Regions from separate parts of the Homo sapiens genome. Here regions 1, 2 and 4 are each linked to region 3. Evidence: promoter capture Hi-C in 16 types of primary human blood cells and fetal thymus (Javierre and others, 2016). All regions are on one chromosome and are shown on one strand. Each heading gives the region's core, a stretch centred on a gene start or on the middle of the fragment in contact. The rest is flanking DNA. Distances are from core to core; before and after follow the strand shown.

Region 1 (2,700 bases), core at 126-2,625, 260 kb before region 3:
ATGTTAAAAAACAATAGTTCATACCTCAATGAAGAATCCATAAGGGTATGAGACTGTATCTTTAGGTCACAGTTCAACAGGGCTCCCATCTGTCTGAACACTGCTAAGGACCCCAGAGGAGGGAATGCTTTTTTCTTCTACTTGCCTTGCCTTAGGATTTAAGGCTCAACCAGCAGCTCACTCCAAAAGGTAAAGTGAGCGACCATCCAGATACCTGAAGCTCAAGTAACTCCCTCTCACTTCATAGACAAGGGTATCTGATACTTATCTTGCTTCAGCAAGTCCTGAATATACTCAAAAGCTTTCTCTCGGTCCTGATCTTTCAGTCAGTACACCTGGAATGTACAACTCTATGAGAGTATGAAGCTAAAGTTCTCTAGCTAGAGACTCTTTTAGCTTAGTAAAAGGCAAATTAACCATATATGACAAATTCTGTGGGAGGAAGTAGAGAGGCAGACTCCTGCCTCAGACCATCTGATGCACAGGCAGATGGTGTGCAGCACTATTATGCCCAGTGACATCCAACTGCAAAGTTACCCTCTGAAAGACACCATCAGGGCAGCCTCAATATTTTGTGCAGGTCCCTCTCCTTGGATAAACTATAAGACCCCACATCGACCCTAGCAGTTAGGTACACACCTGTGGTGATCAGCACCTTCACCAGCCACCTGTGGAAGAGAAAAAAAGGCTTGGTATTGGTAGTGTGCATCACCAAGTACCAGCCAAGGTTAGTATTTGCCTGGAAGACTGCTGCATGTGCAGGCAGAAGGAATGTTCACTCAATAGTAACTTCGGGTATCTGGAAAGTGAGTGAACCAACAGAACCCGACCTGTATTTATAGGTGACTCCCAAATTACAGTACCTAAAGAGTAAAATTTAGCAGGATATAGTCCTTTCCAAGACTTCTAACATTTAATAAAGGAGAAAAATGTTCAACTACAAGTTCCATAATGCAACAAACGGCCTATCACTAAGTTAGCAAATGCTGTCCCTCTAAAGAGCCTGCCCTGACCTTCAAACACATGCCCTCTCCTTTAACCCCTCCCAGCAATGTACCTGTGCCTTTCACCACATCACAACACACAACACTTTTGTATACTTGTCTTCTTTTTTTAGATGGCAAGTGCTCTGAGGCAGAGTCTATCTTAATCACTGAGTACATGGTGGGCACTCAAAAACTAAACTTATCCTGAAAGAAACCACCAAGACCCACAGAATCTCACTGCAGTTAATCAAAATGGGCATTCAACTGAGATTCAGAAGCCAGGATATTCTGTCCCCATTACCTAGACTGTGTCTTGAGACACTCAACCCCTATAACTTCCTGTCTTCTTCATAAAAGTGAGAGTTAACTTTTCTGTAAACCTAAATCTCTTTTCTTTTTCTTTTTTTGACATGGAGTCTCGCTCTGTCACCCAGGCTGGAGGGCAGTGGTGCAATCTCGGCTCACTGCAACCTCCGCCTCCCAGGTTCAAGTGATTCTCCTGCCTCAGCCCCTTAAGTAGCTGGGATTACAGGCCTGCACCACCACGCCCAGCTAATTTTTGTATTTTTAGTAGAGATGGGGTTTCACCATGTTGGCCAGACTGGTCTCAAACTCTGACCTCAGATGATCCGCCCACCTCGGCCTCCCAATATGCTGGGATTACAGGCATGAGCCACCGCACCTGGCCCTAAATCTGTTTTAAAATAAAAAGTTTATTTAAAAAGTTAAAAGAAAAAAAGAAAGAACACAATAGGTTATCTTAAAACGTGTTTCTAATTCAAACAGTCTAGGCAATGCTTTCAAGGGCCATGAATATCAACAAGCCACCAAGCCAAAGTAAAACACCAACACGGACCAACTTCTATGTAGATACTACACATAAAACCAGGTGCCTAATAATTATCTCTTCAGCTTATAAGCCTACCCATTTCCTATTCACAATTTTCCCTTTCTACTCAACTTGGATATGATTCAAATGCCTACAATGAAAATTAAATCCACAAAAATGAGTATTCTACTAATAGTAAGTTGTTTTCCTCCTACATGTCTCCCAACTCCTTCAATCTGTTTCATACAGGCAGAATATCTAAATATCAGGCAGAATTACAGCTGTTTTCTTGAAAAACCTGTCTGCTAGCAAGGATGATGTTACTCACCCATCCCACATTCCTGAGAGAACAAGAGAAAAACGTAGCTCCAATGTGAATCAAGGGAAAATGAGACTGAGCTTTCTTTCTATGAGGCTGCAATTCAATTGTCACAAGACTTTCCTGCTATTGCAGTAACTACTAGGCATTCTCCTATTACTTTCAAAGTTTTAGGATCAGGTGACCATTTATATCCAGGAGCTCAAACTCCCTTCTCCTTCCCCATCCCCGCTTTTCTACTCACACTAAAATTCGAATTCCACTCAATTCCACTCTGCTTTCCTTAAGCACTAGCAAGATTGACTAACAAGCTTTCCCAAATCTCTTAATTCCTAGAACACCACCTTCAATTTCACTGTGGTTTCAAAACAATTTAAAAGAATATAGTTGAAGAAGAATGAAAAAGCACAACTTTCCCTCATATCATACCTCTTACAGATGAAACCAGTACCTTTATGAATATAAAGTCAATACCACATTTGACAGCTCTATGATTCTGAAACCTTTATGTACTAAAATATAACAGCCAACCTATGTTCCCCCTTTCCCACCTGCACAAAAAGAAA
Region 2 (2,700 bases), core at 1-2,500, 500 kb before region 3:
CAGGACTCAGGGCTCTACCTGAAGGAGCTGATCGAGCCAGTGCTGACCTGCTTCAATGATGCAGACAGCAGGCTGCGCTACTATGCCTGCGAGGCCCTCTACAACATCGTCAAGGTGGCCCGGGGCGCTGTGCTGCCCCACTTCAACGTGCTCTTTGACGGGCTGAGCAAGGTAACCGCCCTCCTCCTCCTCCTCACTGAGCTGCGCTTGGTTCCCCCACCTCACTTGACCTTCTGGAACCTTGGACCCCTTTTCCCAGATGCAAGCAGAGCAAACAAGCATGTGGCTGCAAGGGACACTTACTGTCTGTTGAATCTAATCATTTTTAATGGACTTGCATTTATACCTTTTTTCATTTCTCTTTTAATTCATTTTGATTGCATTTGATATAAGTATCAGTCTGCCATACAGTAGAGGGAAGAAGCTGATAGTCTGTGAAACACTCGCCTCCCTGGTAGAAGGGGATGATGCTGACGCCATCATCCAGACCGTACTTTCCCTTTAGGGAGGGCTGCACTTAGTCTAGCTCATAAGTGCCCTAGAAAAAGCTCATGCTCTCCTCCGTGCCTCTTGCAGCCTGGTGGAGTTCCCTTCCCAGGCGCGGAGCAGCCCTGCAATGCTGCTGCCCCTGCAGAATGCCACGGAAGTTTCTAGAGTATCAGCCTCGCAGCTACCCTGTCCCCTCCTCCAGGAGTGGAACAAGGACCCAGCGCTTTAAGATTGGAAACCCCTGGGGAAGGCTGACGGGAAGCAACCCCGTGACCCAGTCACAACAGGGAACAGGAACCCCAGCGGGTCATGGGAGAAGTCCCTGAACAGAAGGGTATTTCCTGAATCTGCTCCTCAGCCAACTCCATTGTACCCACTCCCACTTTCCCAGCCTTTCTCAAATGTGTTCACCGAAAGGGTGATGTTCTTGCTAGATGTTCTGGGCTGCACCAAGGCCTCGGCTGCGGATTTGCAGGAAATCCCTGGTCTTGCATCCAACCGTGACCCTCGCCTCTGTGTCCCTCCCCTGTCTGTGCCTCTTGCAGCTGGCAGCCGACCCAGACCCCAATGTGAAAAGCGGATCTGAGCTCCTAGACCGCCTTTTAAAGGTATTTGTACTTTGTCCCCACTTTTATTTCTACAATCTGTTTCTCCCGTCTGTCTGTAAAGCTTAGAAATTCTGTCATTGGGAATGTTCTTCTTGAATTTAAAATATATTTTAAATTTACATGTACTCCCTGGTGTGCAGTTCTATGACAAGAATATCGAGCTCAATCACCACTATCAAATACAGAACTGTGCCATCACCCAAAATGTCCCCTTTTGTTGCCGCCACCTAGAGCAAAGAAGCTTGCCTGTCACTTTCCACACCTCTCTGGCCCTGACAGCAGGGGCCTGGGCATTCCATCCAGACCACAGAGAGTAGGGTCTTGCCATTCAGTTGGTTCTCTCGACTTTGCTTCCTGCTTTCAATCTACCCGTTTTTCGTATCCCGTGGACTGGGACAGGATGAATACTCCAGAGACCTCTTATGCCTAGCTCAGGATCTGCCATTTTCCTTGGTGGCCGCCTGAGCGCTGGAGCCAGCCCTGGGCAAGTGATTCAGCGAGGTCAGGCAGCCCTGGTCTCGGGCTCTCGGCAGCTCACTTTCCTCTGATCCACAGGACATTGTGACTGAGAGCAACAAGTTTGACCTGGTGAGCTTCATCCCCTTGTTGCGAGAGAGGATTTACTCCAACAACCAGTATGCCCGGCAGTTCATCATCTCCTGGGTAAGGCCTGGCCGGACACCGTTTCTCCAGCCTCCAGTTTGGAAAATCTGCTCTCTAGCACACTCTTGTCAGGCCCTTTGGCTATAGGAACCCTCCATGTTCTCCCTTGAATAGCCATTAACACCTGATAATTCAAAAACACCTTATTCAGCTTTGCCCCCGAAACCCACCATGTTGGCCCTGAAGGGATCAGGTTCTTGTTGCCCTGGAAGGGAGTCCAGTTCTTTCCTTGTCCCAGAAAACACCTGAGTTTCCTTTAAAGCCAGCAGTGCTACTTCCAGCAATCTCACTTTTTCTAGCCTTTTCTGTCCTTCCCCATCCATCCCCTTCTCCCCTGGGCATCCGAATTTCCTTAGAGTCAAATTGCCATTCCCCTGCACATTAAACAAGAAATGCTGACTGTCCTTGCCAGCACCCTCCTCCCACATGGGACACCTGCACTGCAGGGAAATGCTGTCTCAGCAGGGTCCCCTTCCTACAGCCCAGTCCCAGAGGCTTGGTGAGCAGGAAACAGGGTTCTGGAGCTGACTTCCCCTCCTGTTCCCTTCCCCTGGTCAGATCCTGGTTCTGGAGTCGGTGCCAGACATTAACCTGCTGGATTACCTGCCGGAGATCCTGGATGGACTCTTCCAGATCCTGGGTGACAATGGCAAAGAGATTCGCAAAATGTGAGTGGAGTAAGGGGCAGGAAGCTGCTGCCTCCTGCCACCCCCAGCTGTGCCCATGTGCTTCATGCCCACAGAGAGGCCGCGGCAGGAGGGCAGGAAATCACCTCTTCTTCCTGGCTCTTGTGCTTCCCGCTTTGAGGAGCCAAGAGCCCATCAACCCCCAGCATCTGAAAATGATCACCTGACAAGTCCAAAAGCCAAGCCGCCCTCTGGGTGGCTGACCCAGCACGGAAATGGGGCTGGTTTGAGGCTCCTCCAGCCCTGGCTGACCC
Region 3 (2,700 bases), core at 39-2,538:
GGACTCCAGCTGACCTCATACACAGTTTAAAAATCAAATGAAATAAGCATGTGAAATGTTTGATGCAATGCCTCACGTATAAATACATACATATTTTTCAGACAGGGCCTCGCTCTGTCGCCCAAGGAATGCAGTGTCACGATCAGGGCTCACTGCAGCCTCAACTTCCTAGGCTCAAGTGATCCTCCCACTTCAACCTCCCAAGTAGCTGGGACTACAAGCATGCGCCACTATGCCTGGCTAATTTTTATTTTTTATTTTTTTTTTTGAGACGGAGTCTTGCTCCGTAGCCAGGCTGGAGTGCAGTGGCGCCATCTCGGCTCACCGCAACTTCCGCCTCCCGAGGTCAAGGGATTCCCTTGCCTCAGCCTCCCGAGTGGCTGGGACTACAGATGCGCGCCCGGCTAATTTTGTGTTTTTAGTAGAGACGGGGTTTCACCATGTTGGCCAGGATGCTCTCGGTCTCCTGACCTCGTCATCCGTTGGCCTCAGCCTCCCAAAGTGCTAGGATTACAGGTGTGGGCCACCGCGCCCGGCCTTTTAAAAAATTTTTCGTAGAGACAGGGTCTAGTTATGTTGACCAGGCTGGTCTCCAACTCCTGGGTTCAGGTGATCTTCCCACCTTGGCCTCCCAAAGTGTTGCAATTATAGGCGTGAGCCACCGCACCTGGCATGTATATATGTATATGTATATATATATATTCACCCTCCTCCCCCAGGCCTATAAATATTAACTTTTTTTTTTCCAAAGGCAAATCGAGGACCAGATGCTGATCCAATCGTACCTGAACTACTGATGTTATTTCTTCCACACCAAATTCAAGGTCTCCCCCGGACAAGTGTAACCATGGGCACAATGTCAGACTCTTTGAGGGCTGTGTATCACTCAGCAACTAAAATAAACAACTATAGCAAGATATGTAACCTCTACCAAACACGTTACCGTCTCCCCTTTTTAACTATGTCAATTGTGGTGTTAGGACTTTGCCTATGGAAACCAAAATGTCGACCTCCGGGAGCCGGGGGCGGGGGGGGGCGGGGGGGGCGGGGGGGGGTCTAACTCGATCATGTGACGCACCCCATCCCACCTTTTCTCGCAGTTGCATCAGCCAAGTTAGAGCCGCCTTCCCAGGAATCCACTAATGAACGGATTCGTCCTCAGTTTGACTGGCATGTTGGTTGACCAATAATATCTCATGAGGTAAGGCGCGGCGGGGCACTTTCCGTCGGCGCGCTCTGATTGGACGGAGCGTGGCGGGTTGTGGTAGGTCGTGGTCTGAGGCCGGTACAGCTGCGCGTCTGCGGGAATAGGTGCAGCGGGCCCTTGGCGGGGGACTCTGAGGGAGGAGCTGGGGACGGCGACCCTAGGAGAGGTAGGCCGCCCTCGGAGAGCTCTGCGGTGCTAGGAGAGCGGCTGGGCCCGCAGACTGGGGGGAAAGCTCCGCAGCCGCAGTGGGCCCCAGGATCAGGCCCCGCGTGGCCTGGAGAAGCCCAGTCTGGGCTGGAGCGGGAGCTGGACAGTGTGGCCTTGCGTTCGCCCCCGGGAGCGCTGCGAGTGTCGCGGCCTCGGGTGGATTTGCTGAGCACCAATACCTCACGGTTGCCAACCTGGGGTTTTAGCTCCCTTGGTTTTAATCCCCTAGGGGCGGGTGGGGGCACGGGAGGAAGGATGGGCCAGCTGGGTGCAATCCTGCTGTAAGCCAGCCATTCCTTGATTTCTTAAAATTAACTAAACAGCTGATGCCGGTCCAGGCGCACCGAGACCGTCATCTTAAGCTGTTCTGTAAAACAGTTTGTATTTCTCGGTGTGCTTTGAAGCATGTGAGTTAATTCCGAACTTGGTGTTAAAGGATTAGTATACCTGATCACGAAATACGTATTTAGCAGCCACTGTACTAGATGCTGAGGATGTGCTGTAATAGCCCAGGGCCAGGCGCGGAGGCTCACGCCTGTAATCCCAGCGCTTTGGGAGGTCGAGGCGGGCGGATCACCTGAGGTCAGGGGTTCGAGACTAGCCTGGCCAACATGGTGAAACCCCGTCTTTACTAAAAATACAAAAATTAGCCGAGCGTGGCGGCGCGCGCCTGTACTCTCAGCCACTCCGGAGGCTGAGGCATGAGAATCGCTTGAACCCGGCAGGCGGAGGTTGCAGTGAGCTGAGATCACACCATTGCACTCCAGCCTGGGTGACAGAGGGAGACTCCGTTTCAAAAAAAAAAAAAAAAAAAGAGCCCAGAACAGTCGTTGCTGCTGGGATGGAACTGACAGCCTGATGGGGGAGGCGCACATTAAACAATCCATGAAGCGCGTATGGAAATTATGAAGGGAAACACTTGAGGCTGTGAGACAGTAAAAGAGGGGGAGCCTTATCAAGAAGGGGAAGGCGGCCGGGCGCGGTGGCTCACGCCTGTAATCCCAGCACTTGGGGAGGCCGAGGTGGGCAGATCACGAGGTCAGGAGATTGAGACCATCCTGGCTAACACGGTGAAACCCCATCTCTACCAAATATACAAAAATAGCCGGGCGTGGTGACTGGCGCCCGTAGTCCCAGTAGTCCCAGCTACTCGGGAGGCTGAGGCAGGAGAATGGCGTGAACCCGGGAGGCGGAGCTTGCAGTGAGCTGAGATCGCGCCACTGCACTCCAGCCTGCGCAACAGAGCGAGACTCCGTCTCAAAAAAAAAAAAAAAAAAAAAAGAAGA
Region 4 (2,700 bases), core at 148-2,647, 390 kb before region 3:
GCCAAGGATCTCGCAGTCACTAGCCAGGCTCAGGATCAGGGGCCTTTCCTTGGCTGGGCACTGGGGCTGGGTTTGGAGGAGACATTGATGGTTCAAGCTTCCTTGGGTGGGGAGGACAGTAAGCACAGAGTGAAGTGCTGGTGGGGGCCCCCCTTTGCCAGGCACCCCTCTCCCCAGAATCACTGGCTGGACATCCAGAGCTTGGGAGAAGCCAGGCACAGCAATCAGCTACTACCTCAGAGAGAGGCTCTTCAGACCCTGCGTGGGTGGCCGTCCCACAGTGAAGGGGCTGATTGCAGGGGACAGCCATGAGCAGGGGCAGAGGCTGGGAGGCTTCAGGGTCACGCTTAGCCAGGAACACCACCCAAGGGTTGAATTGCTGTGCTGAGGGTGTGAGCCATAGAGGGCTGGACACCCTTGAGGGATTGGAGAGAGTGAGGGTGATGGTGGGTGCAGGACCCACTTGGAAGGTGACCTCTGTACGCACACACACCATCACCATATGCTAGACATCCAGTTAGGACTGGATGGCAAATACCAGATTTTGAGAAGGTGGTTTAGGAATGATTGGACTCACCGGGGGCAGTCGTTCACGCCTGTAATCCCAGCAGTTCGGGAGGCCGAGGCAGGCGGATCACGAGGTCAGGAGATTGAGACCATCCTGGTAAAAACGGTGAAACCCCGTCTTTACTAAAAAATACAAAAAAATTAGCCGGGCATGGTGGTGTGTGCCTGTAGTCCCAGCTACTCGGGAGGCTGAGGCCTCAGTGATAAAGATATATTCTTTAGGATATAGGAATCTAGATTAAGATCTTTGGTGAAACCAATAGGTTTTTTGGTGGGTTTTTTGGGTTTTGTTGTCATTGTGAGACAGGGTCTCGCTCTGTCACCCAGGCTGGAGTGCAGTGGCACAATCATGGCTCACTGTGGCCTCGACCTCCCGGGTTCAAGCGATTCTCCTGCCTCAGCTTCCCAAGTAGCTGGGAATACAGGTGTGCACCACCACGCCTGGCTAATTTTCATATATTTTGTAGAGACAGGGTCTCACCCTATTGCCCAGGCTGGTCTCAAATTCCTGGACTCAAGCAATCCACCCACCTCAGACTCCCAAAGTGCTGGGACAGGTGTGAGCCACCACGCCCAGACAGGACAACTGTTTCTTGTTTCTTTTTTTTTTTTTCAAGACAGAGCCTTGCTCTCCTAGGCTGGAGTGCAGTGGCATAATCTTGGCTCACTGCAACCTCCGCCTCCCAGGTTCAAGTGATTCTCGTGCCTCAGCCTGCCAAGTAGCTGAGATTACAGGCATGCGCCACCATGCCCAGCTAACTTTTGCATTTTTAGTGGTGATGGGGTTTCGCTATGTTCTCCAGGCTGGTCTTGAACTCCTGTCCTCAAATGATCCACCCGCCTTGGTCTCCCAAAGTTCTGGGATTACAGACATGAGCCACTGTGCCCAGCCTGGACAACTGTTCTTAGTGGCAGAATAGGAGGCAGAGAGGTTGCCTCACCCTGGGCATTCCCTGACCACGGCTCCCCTCAGCACTGGGGCTGGGGGTACCCTGCTCTGGCCCTCCCCTTCCACACCGTCCCAGAACACAGCTCCTGTGTAGCACCTGGGTCTCAGGACCTCCTAGTCTGACATTGTCTTTTCCTTCCTTTGCCCCTCACCTCTTTCCCCACCCTCGTTTGTCAACCTCCCCCAAACACACACCCCTCTGTCTCCCTGTCTGGCTGCTGTGCCCTCTTCCTTCACTCCCCTAGTGCCCCCAGCAGCAGTAGCAGTGCCAAGGGTGGCGGAGCCCCATGGCCTGGGGGTGCCCAAACATACTCACCCAGTTCCACCTGTCGCTACCGCAGCCTGGCGCAGCCAGCCACCACCACCGCTCGCCTCTCCAGCGTTTCCTCCCATGACTCTGGCTTCGTCTCCCAGGACGCCACCTACTCCAAGCCCCCCTCGCCTATGCCTTCAGACATCACCAGCCAGGTGAGGGGGCGTTAGGAGGATCAGTCAGGGTGGGGTGCAGCAGCCTTATGCCAGCATCAGGCAAGCCACATGCGGGACTACTATAGCTGTTGAGACTACTATAGCTGTTGAGACTGGCCTGAAGGCCCCCAAGGCCTTTATTCTGTTCAGTATTTATATTATTATTTTCTATCTCTGCTTTTAAATTCACATATCTTTATATCTTAAATGAGTCTCTTGTAAGCAGCATAATGCCTAGATTTTCTTTTTTTATCCAATCTGACAACCTCTATCTTTTAATTGCCATTTTTAGCCCCTTTGTATTTACTGACATATTTGGACTTCTGGCTTTCTTCTTTCTATTTGTCCTGAATTCTTGTCTCTACCCTTGACTTTGTTTTTTCTTTTCTCTTATTCCCCGTCTGCTGGATTGTAAGTTATATTCTGTCTCTTTTCTTTTATAGGTTACCTTGAAATCTTACCATATGCATACTTAACACAACCCCACCTCCTGAGTAATTCAAGGCCCTTAATATATATTTTTTTACTTGTCACCCACTCCTTCTCAAACTTACAAGCTATATTATTTTCTCTTTTTTTTTACAGTACCCACAAATGACATTTTTCTTCTTAATTTCTTTATTTTATACATACAGTACTTATTTAGATTTACCCATATGTTAATACACATTTCTTGTCATTTTTTTCTTGCATCTCAAATCCTCCAAAGCTTATTT

The links. Contacts are between HindIII fragments. The CHiCAGO score rates a contact against its expected background, and 5 or more counts as called.
Region 1: a fragment that was not itself captured here is called in contact with the fragment with the promoter of AARS1 in region 3 in 12 of 17 cell types (erythroblasts, megakaryocytes, naive CD8 T cells and 9 more); the score reaches 23.5 in erythroblasts.
Region 2: a contact is called between a fragment that was not itself captured here and the fragment with the promoter of AARS1 in region 3, in 1 of 17 cell types (fetal thymus). The highest score is 6.1, in fetal thymus.
Region 4: a contact is called between a fragment that was not itself captured here and the fragment with the promoter of AARS1 in region 3, in 1 of 17 cell types (fetal thymus). The highest score is 5.2, in fetal thymus.

Annotation. Positions count from the first base shown.
Region 1 is chr16:70,548,618-70,551,317 of GRCh38, reverse strand. All of the region lies in intron 11 of SF3B3 (splicing factor 3b subunit 3), which reads right to left. Among named protein-coding and RNA genes, the nearest start is that of SNORD111, 12 kb to the right of the region's middle. The HindIII fragment of the contact is 2,144 bases long and covers 304-2,447 here.
Region 2 is chr16:70,783,173-70,785,872 of GRCh38, reverse strand. It overlaps VAC14 (VAC14 component of PIKFYVE complex), which reads left to right. Exons shown (of 19, transcript NM_018052.5): 3 at 4-171; 4 at 1,035-1,097; 5 at 1,653-1,760; 6 at 2,319-2,428. Among named protein-coding and RNA genes, the nearest start is that of TRG-GCC2-5, 5.0 kb to the left of the region's middle. The HindIII fragment of the contact is 180 bases long and covers 1,161-1,340 here.
Region 3 is chr16:70,288,094-70,290,793 of GRCh38, reverse strand. AARS1 (alanyl-tRNA synthetase 1) reads left to right here and starts at 1,288. Exons shown (of 21, transcript NM_001605.3): 1 at 1,288-1,373. It also overlaps a transcript of DDX19B not described here. RefSeq lists a silencer at 1,943-2,072. The HindIII fragment of the contact is 11,417 bases long and covers 1-2,700 here.
Region 4 is chr16:70,673,590-70,676,289 of GRCh38, reverse strand. MTSS2 (MTSS I-BAR domain containing 2) reads left to right here. Exons shown (of 15, transcript NM_138383.3): 11 at 1,762-1,984. Among named protein-coding and RNA genes, the nearest start is that of MTSS2, 11 kb to the left of the region's middle. The HindIII fragment of the contact is 2,596 bases long and covers 100-2,695 here.